Linked DNA regions of Homo sapiens: region 1 is linked to region 2. Evidence: promoter capture Hi-C in human tissues and cell types (Jung and others, 2019). All regions are on one chromosome and are shown on one strand. The core of a region is centred on a gene start or on the middle of the fragment in contact, and the rest is flanking DNA. Distances in the headings are between cores, read along the strand shown.

Evidence for each region. The method cuts DNA at HindIII sites, captures the fragments that hold promoters and counts their contacts. A contact is called where the count stands out against the background at its distance.
Region 1: a contact is called between the fragment with the promoter of F10 here and a fragment that was not itself captured in region 2, in 3 of the 25 tissues and cell types used here (IMR-90 fibroblasts, dorsolateral prefrontal cortex and heart left ventricle).

What each region holds. Positions count from the first base shown.
Region 1 is chr13:113,120,230-113,124,903 of GRCh38, forward strand. It overlaps F10 (coagulation factor X), which reads left to right and starts at 2,570. Exons shown (of 8, transcript NM_000504.4): 1 at 2,570-2,696. The coding sequence starts at 2,627. It overlaps F7 (coagulation factor VII), which reads left to right. Exons shown (of 8, transcript NM_019616.4): 8 at 1-456. The HindIII fragment of the contact is 14,274 bases long and covers 1-4,674 here.
Region 2 is chr13:113,223,828-113,228,349 of GRCh38, forward strand. It overlaps CUL4A (cullin 4A), which reads left to right. Exons shown (of 20, transcript NM_001008895.4): 4 at 4,149-4,218. Among named protein-coding and RNA genes, the nearest start is that of CUL4A, 16 kb to the left of the region's middle. The HindIII fragment of the contact is 5,587 bases long and covers 451-4,522 here.

The sequences.
Region 1 (4,674 bases), core at 1,320-3,819, 100 kb before region 2:
CTTGTCAATGATATTTCACAGAGACCCTGGGAGCACCTGCTCAAGAGTCAGGGACACACGCATCACTAAATGCAAGTTCCCAGGCCCTGGCTGCAGTGGGAGGACCTGGCAAGCTGCACTCTTGCTGAGTCCCCAGGGTGGTGGAAGAAGAATGAGAAACACATGAACAGAGAAATGGGGAGGTGACAAACAGTGCCCCCACTCAGACTCCGGCAAGCACGGCTCAGAGAGTGGACTCGATGCCATCCCTGCAGGGCCGTCCTGGGCACCACTGGCACTCACAGCAGCAAGGTGGGCACCATTGGCACTCACAGCAGCAAGGCAGGCACCAGCAACCCACCTCGGGGGCACTCAGGCATCATCTACTTCAGAGCAGACAGGGTCTATGAACTACAGCCGTGGGCTGCTTCCAAGGCACCCTGCTCTTGTAAATAAAGTTTTATGGGAACACACCCATATTAGTGTCCATGGAGTGGCCGTGGCAGAGACGTCCAGCCGGACAGACCAGCTGACCCGCCAAGCCCAGCATGGTTAGTGTCAGGACCTCTGCTGAAGATGCTTGCTGACCCTGGCCAGACCCCGGTTCCTAATGCCCCCTAAACGGGACGGGAGCCAGTGGCGGGCCCTGATCCAGGTCAGAGCTGGCTCTGCTTTCTCTTTTGTCCGAGTGACCATGCCTCAGTTTCCTCATGTGTAAAACAGGAGCCCACCGTGATGCTTATGGTGGGATGAGATCAGCATGGATGGAACAAGGCCCTGGAAGGGCCCATGCCATGGTCATCGACAGCAAAGCCACTCTGCAGACAGATGCTTCAGTGAATTGGTAGAAAATTCTGCAACCAGAATGCCCGGGGCTCCTGAGGGCCTAAGCCCAGCCCAGGGTTCTGGAAGCCACTCTGACTTCTTGGGAGTGGAAGTTGGCAGGACTCTTCCTGGGAAGAAGCGGAGGGTGGGGATGAGAGGACAGTTCAGGAGCCCACCCAGACCCACAGGAGGAAACTAGGGGAGTCATGCGGGGTCCTGGTGGAGCGCCAGCCTCCCTTCCTGCCAATGGGAAATGCAGGCGCCCACCTCATGGTGCTGCCGGAGGAGGGGGCCCGGGACTCCCCAGAGGCTTCGCTGAAGGGCCTGGGCGCCCCCAAAGGCTACATGTTTCATATGGGACGTGCCACCTGCCACGGCTCAGCTCCAGCTTTCTGTGAGTGGCGAGATAGAATACGGGGAGGCCACTGGCCATGGGCCTGGGACAGGGTGGGATGAGGCGGCAGGCTTGGGCCACCAAAGCCAGCATCGCCACCCAGCATTGATGACAAAGACTGCGTGTCTGCCATGAGCATCCTGCTGTTGGTGCACACACCGCATTGGTCTCTCCATACAAACATGCCTAGAGGCGATGTCAGAGGGTGGAGACCAGGAGAGGCAGGAGTCAGACATCTGGTGCCACCAGGAAGGCCCTTCTCAGAGGACCAGGCTGTGCGTGGTGCCCGCCGTGGGAGGCCAGCCTGGCGTTGGCATCCAGCATCATCAGTTTGTGCAGTCGGGTGGGGCTCAGTGAGTGCCTCCTGTGTGCCAGGCACAATGACGCACAATGTGTGCACACCAGGCTCATGTGCAGGTGGCTGCGAGACAGGGCGACCCATCAAGGCAGATGCACCATGAGGCAGTGGCCAGTGCTGTGGGTGTTAGGGGCATTGCTCCCCGGCCACTACGGCATAGCAGGCAGTGATCGCCACACTGGCCAAGCTTTAGACCATTTATTCCAGAGACCCCAGAGGCAAAAAGCCCGGCTGCACCTCCCAGTGACTCCCACAGCCATTGAGCAGAGACACTCAGGACCTTGTGATGGGAGGTTTCTGCACTGGAGAACGAGCCCAGAAGCCCTCTCAGCCTCGGAACAGTGTGGCCAGTGGTGGGCAGGTCAGGAGGGGCTTCAGACACAGCCTGTCCCTCCAGATGGTCACGGGAAGGTCACTCCCCACAGAAGTACGTTTTGGGGCCATGCGGGCACAGAAGGTTTGGGGGTGGGTGGGGCAGGTGCCAGCCTGGCCTGTGGGAGGCCATGGTGCAGATGCCAAGCCCCCCCCGTGACATGAGACCACCTGATACCACCCAGAGAGTGGCTGTGAGCGGAAGGGCCCGCCCAGAAACAAGCAGGGCCTTGGGGCAGAAGTCCTGGGCTCAGATCCCACGCTCACTGCCAGCGGCCTCGGCTCAGGCTTCTGCGCTCTCTAAACTTAGTTTTCTCTTCTGGAAAAATGATGGGGAAAATGATATTTGTATGTGAGGACTGAGAGTTAAATGTAAACATCTGGAAACTACAAAATGAGCACGAAATGATGTTTTTATTCTTAGAACAGAAAGTCCCCACACCCGCGGCCCTGGTGACTGATGAGGATGAGGTTCTGCGGGGCCTCTCTGGCCGCCCAGCTCTGCCTGGGGAAGGTGGGGCCAGAGTGGATGTGTTCCCAGCGTGGTCACTCCCCTGCCTCGCCAGCAGGTCTCGGCTCCAATCAGGAGGCCTAAGCCAAGTGATAAGCAGCCAGACAACAGCCATCCCAGCTGGGGCGTGGACTTTGCTCCAGCAGCCTGTCCCAGTGAGGACAGGGACACAGTACTCGGCCACACCATGGGGCGCCCACTGCACCTCGTCCTGCTCAGTGCCTCCCTGGCTGGCCTCCTGCTGCTCGGGGAAAGTCGTAAGTGCCCCTCGCCCTTCAGACCCAAAAGCAGCGCCAGGGAGCAGGGAGGGGCGGCAGTTGGGGAAACCCTCTCATCTCTGCAGCCTGGACGGTGGGTGCCTTGAGTGCTGCCAGAGGCTGGGCTCGGATGGCTGGGCTTGGCCTTTCCAGCCAACGGCATCCTCAAGGCCAGCTGTGGCTCCCTGGGGCTGAGAGTCAGACGGGCGGATCAGAGGTCACAGAGACAAAAACACAAGGACAGAGTCAGAGAGAGAAAGGGAGAGGGAAGGAGAAACGGAGACACAGTGAGATGGGAGGCCAAGAGGCAGAGACAGAGGTAGAAAGACGGAGACAGAGAGAGAGGGAGGGGTTGGGGCAGGCAGAGACAGGACAGTTAGCCATCTGCCACCACAGGGAGGCACAGGACGAGGGGCACAGCAGAGGAGCTCCCAGGGAGGAGGAGGCTGAGCCGAGCCAGTGCCACCACTCTCGGACTGGCTCCGTCGGGGAAGGAGCTGCCTAATGCACAGCTGGACAGGTGGGGGCAGCAGGGCTGTCCAGGACCCCCGGGTCTGTCCAAAAGCAGAGGCCCAGACAGGACAGAAGCCAGGCAAGCCTGGGGACAGCGGAGGAAGAGGAGGCCCCTCTGGTGGGGACACGAGAGACAGGGACCCTAGACTTGTTTGCATCCTGGACAAAGTGGACAGGCAGGGGCACCAAGGGGACCCAGGCCTGGGAAGGGAATGTGTGAGGGAGAGACGGAGCAGGGGGAGACCCTCGTGGGGTGGAAAGGGGAGACCCCTGGGAAGGCTGAGTGGATCCTCAGTGCATCACTGACCTAAACGGCCCCTCCGCCTGGTGACTTGGAGCTCCAGTCACATCACACGGGGGTCTTCTCCATCCCACCCTCAACCCCCTGCCCTCCCCAGCCTCTGTCCCCTGAGCCACATCTTCCTGTCTCCCACGCGGAACGGGACTCCCGTCTTCATGGGGTACTGTGTGGCTCCAACTCGCCCAGCCTTCTTCCTCCCCCTCAGGCCACACTGCCCCCTGCAGGAGCCCACTGTGATGCTTGTGGTGGGATGAGATCAGCGTGGGTGGAACAAGGCCCTGGAAGGACCCATGCCATCATCATCGACAGCAAAGCTACTCTGCAAACAGACAGATGCTTCCGCGAATTGGTAGAAAATTCTGCAGCCGGAATGCTCTAGGATCCTGAGGCCCTAAGCCCGGCCCGGGGCTCCCGAGGCCCTAAGCCCGGCCCGGGACTCTGGAAGCTGCTCTGGCTTATTGGGAATGGAAGTTGGCAGGACTCCTCTTCCTGGGAAGAAGCAGAGGGTGGGGATGAGAAGACAGGCCAGGAGCCCACCCAGACCCACAGGAGGAAACTAGGGGAGTTATGCAGAGTCCTGGTGGAGCGCCAGCTTCCCTTCCTGCCAATGGGAAATGCAGGCGCCCACCTCGCGGACCTCTGGGTCCACAGGGTATTGGCACCCTTAGCTGTGTGATGCGGGCCTGGCTCATAACCATGGCCTGTGGTGTCCCCGGGGGCCGGCCTGGACCCTGGGTGGACATGGCCAGCCCCGGAGAGCCAGGGCCAGGCCATCTCTCTCCCCTACTCTGCCTCAGAGGCCTCGGCAGCTGCACTGTGGGGTGGGTGGGGCTGAACACAGGTCCCAGAAGGTCCCACTCAGGACCCTGCTGTGCACACTTTTGATTTTAATAAAATCAGAATGCGCACAGCATCTGCAGTCTAGCCTTTAAACGAGCACAGCTGTCCTGGCAGTCACGGAAGTTCTTCTGGGGCGGTGGGACCTCAGCATTCCTTTGCTGGTACTGCTACAAGAAAGGACAATGGACCAAGTAGCTTAAAGCAACAGAAACATTTCTCCCACAGCTCTGGAGGCTGGAAGTTCAAAATCAAGGCGTCAGCGGGGCTGGTTCCTCCAGAGGCTGGGAGAGAGTCTGCTCTAGGCCTGTTTCCTGGCCTCGGGGT
Region 2 (4,522 bases), core at 1,994-4,493:
GTTTACCACATCCGTTTTCTTGTCTCACATGTTTGATAAATTCTGCACTTAGCTGTCCGTTTCAAAATAGATAGCTGCTCTTGGTGACGTCCCTTCCTCAAAATAAAGGCCATTTGTACCCTTGCACTCATACACATGCTCAGCCACAGGCAGCTGCTGCAGAACCCACACCACATGCTGCAGGACCACGTGCCACCCAGCCAAGCTACGTGGGCAACAGGAGCTCTTCAAAAATGTCAAGCCCGCAGAGTGCGGTGGCTCACGCCTGTAATCCCAGTACTTTGGGAGGCCAAGGTGGGCGGATCATGAGGTCAGGAGATCGAGACCATCCTGGCTAACACGGTGAAACCCCGTCTCTACTGAAAATACAAAAAAATTAGCCGGGCGTGGTGGCGGGCACCTGTAGTCCCAGCTACTCGGGAGGCTGAGGCAGGAGAATGGCATGAACCCGGGAGGCAGATCTTGCAGTGAGCCGAGATCGCACCACTGCACTCCAGCCTGGGTGACAGAGCGAGACTCCATCTCAAAAAAAAAAAAATGTCAAGCCAACTGTCCTCAGAATCTAACCTGTAGATAACTATAGATGAAACTCACATTTTCCTTCCCCTGGTTCACCTTGACAGCATTGCAGCTCTGGTCAGCCACAGAATGCCAGGCAGTGGTGGACACCATGATAGCCGTGTGGTCAGAAGGGAAGGGCACGGGAGTGAGCTGGGAACCTTGGCTGTTGGGGAAGTTGCAAAGCTCCAGTTTCCTCTAAGTGTGCCTTTATGATCCGCACTGGCGACAGCAGGCTTTGTCTTTCCTTAGAAAGACTTTGTGCCTGTTCTCACTTGACCAGATATCGTGTACGGAGCACTTGCTGGCAGTAGGCCAAGCTCTGCACATTCATGAATTGCTTTGTCTCACAACACCCTGAGCCGTAGGTATCTTTATTGACCATATTTTCCAGATGAAGAGACGAAAGCCCAAGAGAACCCTGTTAATGCTCGGCCAGATCAGAGGAGACAAAACAAGCACCCCTGCCTTCATGGGTTGTGTGGATGAATGAGGGTCGGCCTAGGGCTGTCCCCTCGCGGTCTGTCCGGTCTGTCGGTACAGGCAGCAGATGGGCCACTTGTTCCTGGAATTGCAGAAGCAGATAACCAAGTGTAGAAAATGTATGTATCCCTCTTCTACCCCAACAGAAGCACCGTCTTTTTGCTTTTTCTTTTTTTTTTTAGTTACAGATATGATAGGTAGGTTTTTTTCTATGGTGTAAGCATTTCTGCTGTTGGATTTTGTTTGCTGTTTGAAGACCTGCCTAACTCGTCTCAGTAGGCTGTATAAATCGTTTAATGAAGATTGGCCCTTTTCTGAAGTGAGAAAAAGGATGGTTGCTGAAGAACCTATCTCGAGAATACACTATTGACAGACTCACGGTGTCTGTGTGTCTCACATCCTGGAATTACTTGCACACCATTGTGGCTATGTGTTATATCCCAGAATATGGAATTGATTTTGATGTTTAGAAGGCCAAAGCTTACTTAGTAAATGCCACACTGATTTTAGCTTACCATTTTGTAGTTTTTTTCTGTGGGAAATAACAAAAAAATTATTGATTGAGGATCTATATTGATTTTACAGAGCTATTTTAGAGGAAGTATTTCTCATTTAATGAACACTTTACATTGGACTTTCCATCTTAACAAGACACTGCCCCAGGTGGAACTCTGTCTTCACAACACCTGAGCTGCCCAGTGGTGTCAGATTGACTGGTGTCAGTTTAACCCCGTTAAGTTTAAAGGATCTGTGCACCCTCATCTGGAAGCAAAGCTCCGCCTTCGGCTGCTGTGGCCCGCCTGCCCGCAGAGAGGCTTGCTGGGAGGTCCAGGCCGCAGTTCCCGTCCAGCTCCTGGAGTCAGAGCTGCAGGATGGCTGTTGGGGGTCCTTGAAGCCTGTCCAGATGCACTTGGGATGGGTTTTTTTGTTTTGTCCAGACTGTTTCTGTAGATTCCTAATATAATGAGCCATTATAATTTTGAACAATTTGTAAAGAGTACTTCCAGAGGAACCTGTTAACCATTCAACCATTAGGTCTTTGCTGTAAGTGTCTGTTTTTAATTTTCTGGCAGTGCTTCTGAGAATTCTGCAAAGCCTCAAGAAAAAATAGAGTAAGCTGTCTTAGCCAGGCCCCTGTAGCTTTGGTCACAGCACTTCCTGGTGTGACAAGGACTCAGACCCCCCGGGAGCCCCTTGGCTATCCTCAGCACTGTTTATTCCTCCTCAGGCTCTGCCTGGCACCCTACCCTCCCTGGCACTCTTTCTTTGTCAGGCCACTCGTTGCCACCCTGAGACTCCAGCTCATGTCTGATTTGTGCATCCTACTTAACTGATGTGTTTTTCCTCCTCTCTGTGTGTGAGGATGTTGTCACCACCTCACATTGGCTCTTGAGTGTGAAGTGTCTTGCTGCACGGCAGAAACAGACCTAGAGAAGTCCCTTGGTTTGGCCAGTATTGTGTTGCTGACAGGCGGTGGATCAAGAGTTAAAATGTAGGAAGTCCATGTTCTGTCCCCTTTGACAAGCCATTTTCTTAATCTGTACAAAGGGAACAATGTCTGCACCACGAGGTTGGGGAGATTTTCAGTGAGAGTGGATGTGAAGAGTGTTTCGTAAACCATAAAGCAGTTTATTGTCATTGATGATTCTCAGCTTTGCATGAACCTGAGGGACACCAGACCACTTGCTCTAGGAGCCCATATTCTGGGTTCTTTGTCCTAAACTACTTTTTGGGCCTTTTCCTAAAAATACACATTCTAAGAGTCAAGGTAAGAGTGTTCCTAATTTGGTGCATGGATGAGAGTTCATGTTAGTTTTCATTGAGGCTGGAAGTTAAACCTGAGCCATTTTCCTGTCCAGCTGCACTTTGCCACAGGCTGGGCACACTGGCTCATACCTGTAATCCTAGCACTTTGGGAGACTGAGGAGGATTACTTAAGACCACGTGTTCAAGACCAGCCTAGGAGTATAGTGAGGTGCCATCTCTTTTAATTTTTAAAAAATAGTCCTAGTGACTCTTACCAGGCCAGTCACCATCTCCAGGAGCCCCCCTGTGGGAGTATGTTCAGTGTCTGCCCTTTGTGAAGTGGGGCCTTTTGTCCCGCCACCTACCCCCAGGGCACTTAAGGCCTGGGTGTGTTTCTGCCGGCAGGGACTTGAAGGTGTCTGGCAGTGAAGGAAGGAGAGGATGAAGGGAGGCTGGAGAGGGAGTGGCGAGCGGCCAGAGGCAGGCGGGGCCGTGGGAAGGGAAAGCAGCACAGGCAAGCTGAGTGCACATTGGTGATGAGATACAGAGATCCATGATTGAACTTCTAGTGTATCTTAGCCCACTGGGGCTGCCATGACAAAACACCATAGAGTGTGGCTCATCAACAGCAGGAGTCTGTTGCTCACAGCTCTGGAGGCTGGAGGTCCAGGGTCAAGGCACTGGCAGATTGCATGTCTGGTGGGGCCCCGCTTCCTGGTCCATAGCCAGCACCTTCTCACTGCATCCTTATGTGGTGGAAGAGGCAGGGGAGCTCTCTGGGGTCTCTTTTGTAACCCCATTCTTGAGGCTTGTCCACTCTCATGACCTAATCACCTCCCAGAGGCCCTGCCTCCTAACACCATTACCGTAGAGTGAGAGCTTCAGCCTATGAATTTTGGGGGGACATGAACATTCAAGACTAATATTCTTTCAGTATTCCAGTTACTGAATGGTGTGTAGTATTCAGTGGAGAAGGTAGCTGAAATTAAGGGGTTAAAATTGTAATAATGGCCGGTTGCGGTGGCTCACGCCTGTAATCCCGGCACTTTGGGAGGCTGAGGCCAGTGGATCACAAGGTCAGGAGTTCGAGATCAGCCTGACCAACATGGTGAAACCCCGTCTCTACTAAAAATACAAAAAATTAGCTGGGCGTGGTGGCACACGCCTGTAATCCCAGCTACTCAAGAGGCTGAGGCAGGAGAATCGCTTGAACCTGGGAGGCAGAGGCTGCACTGCTGAGCTAAGATCGTGCCACTGCACTCCAGCCTGGGCGACAGAGCGAGACTCCATCTCAAAAAAAAAAAAAAAGGTAATAATTAAATTGGCCAGCATTTTTAAAGTTTTCCTTAGCAGATCTGTACAGACTCACTAGATAGTGTTTTATTTTTAAAGAAGATTAACACGTGCTGGCAGGACCACTGCAGACAAATGGTAAGCTTGTTCACTTTTTCATCAAAACACGACCTCATCCATCTTCCCTCACCCACATGATTGAGAGCTGAGACATAGAAGTTCTGTTGAGGATTCTGTCTGTGTTCAGTGCTGTGGTTGAACAGCACGATGAGAAAAGCAGGGAAGGTGAACTCCTCAGCTCCTGTGAGAGGGCACCACTGACCCTCTTGGCCTTCAGGTCCACAGTCACAGTCCGCAGTGGTGACAGGGTTCTTAGATGCCTGCATGGGTCTCTAAATGTCTCTTTAAGCACAGTTTACTCCTCAGAATCTAGCCTGAATCC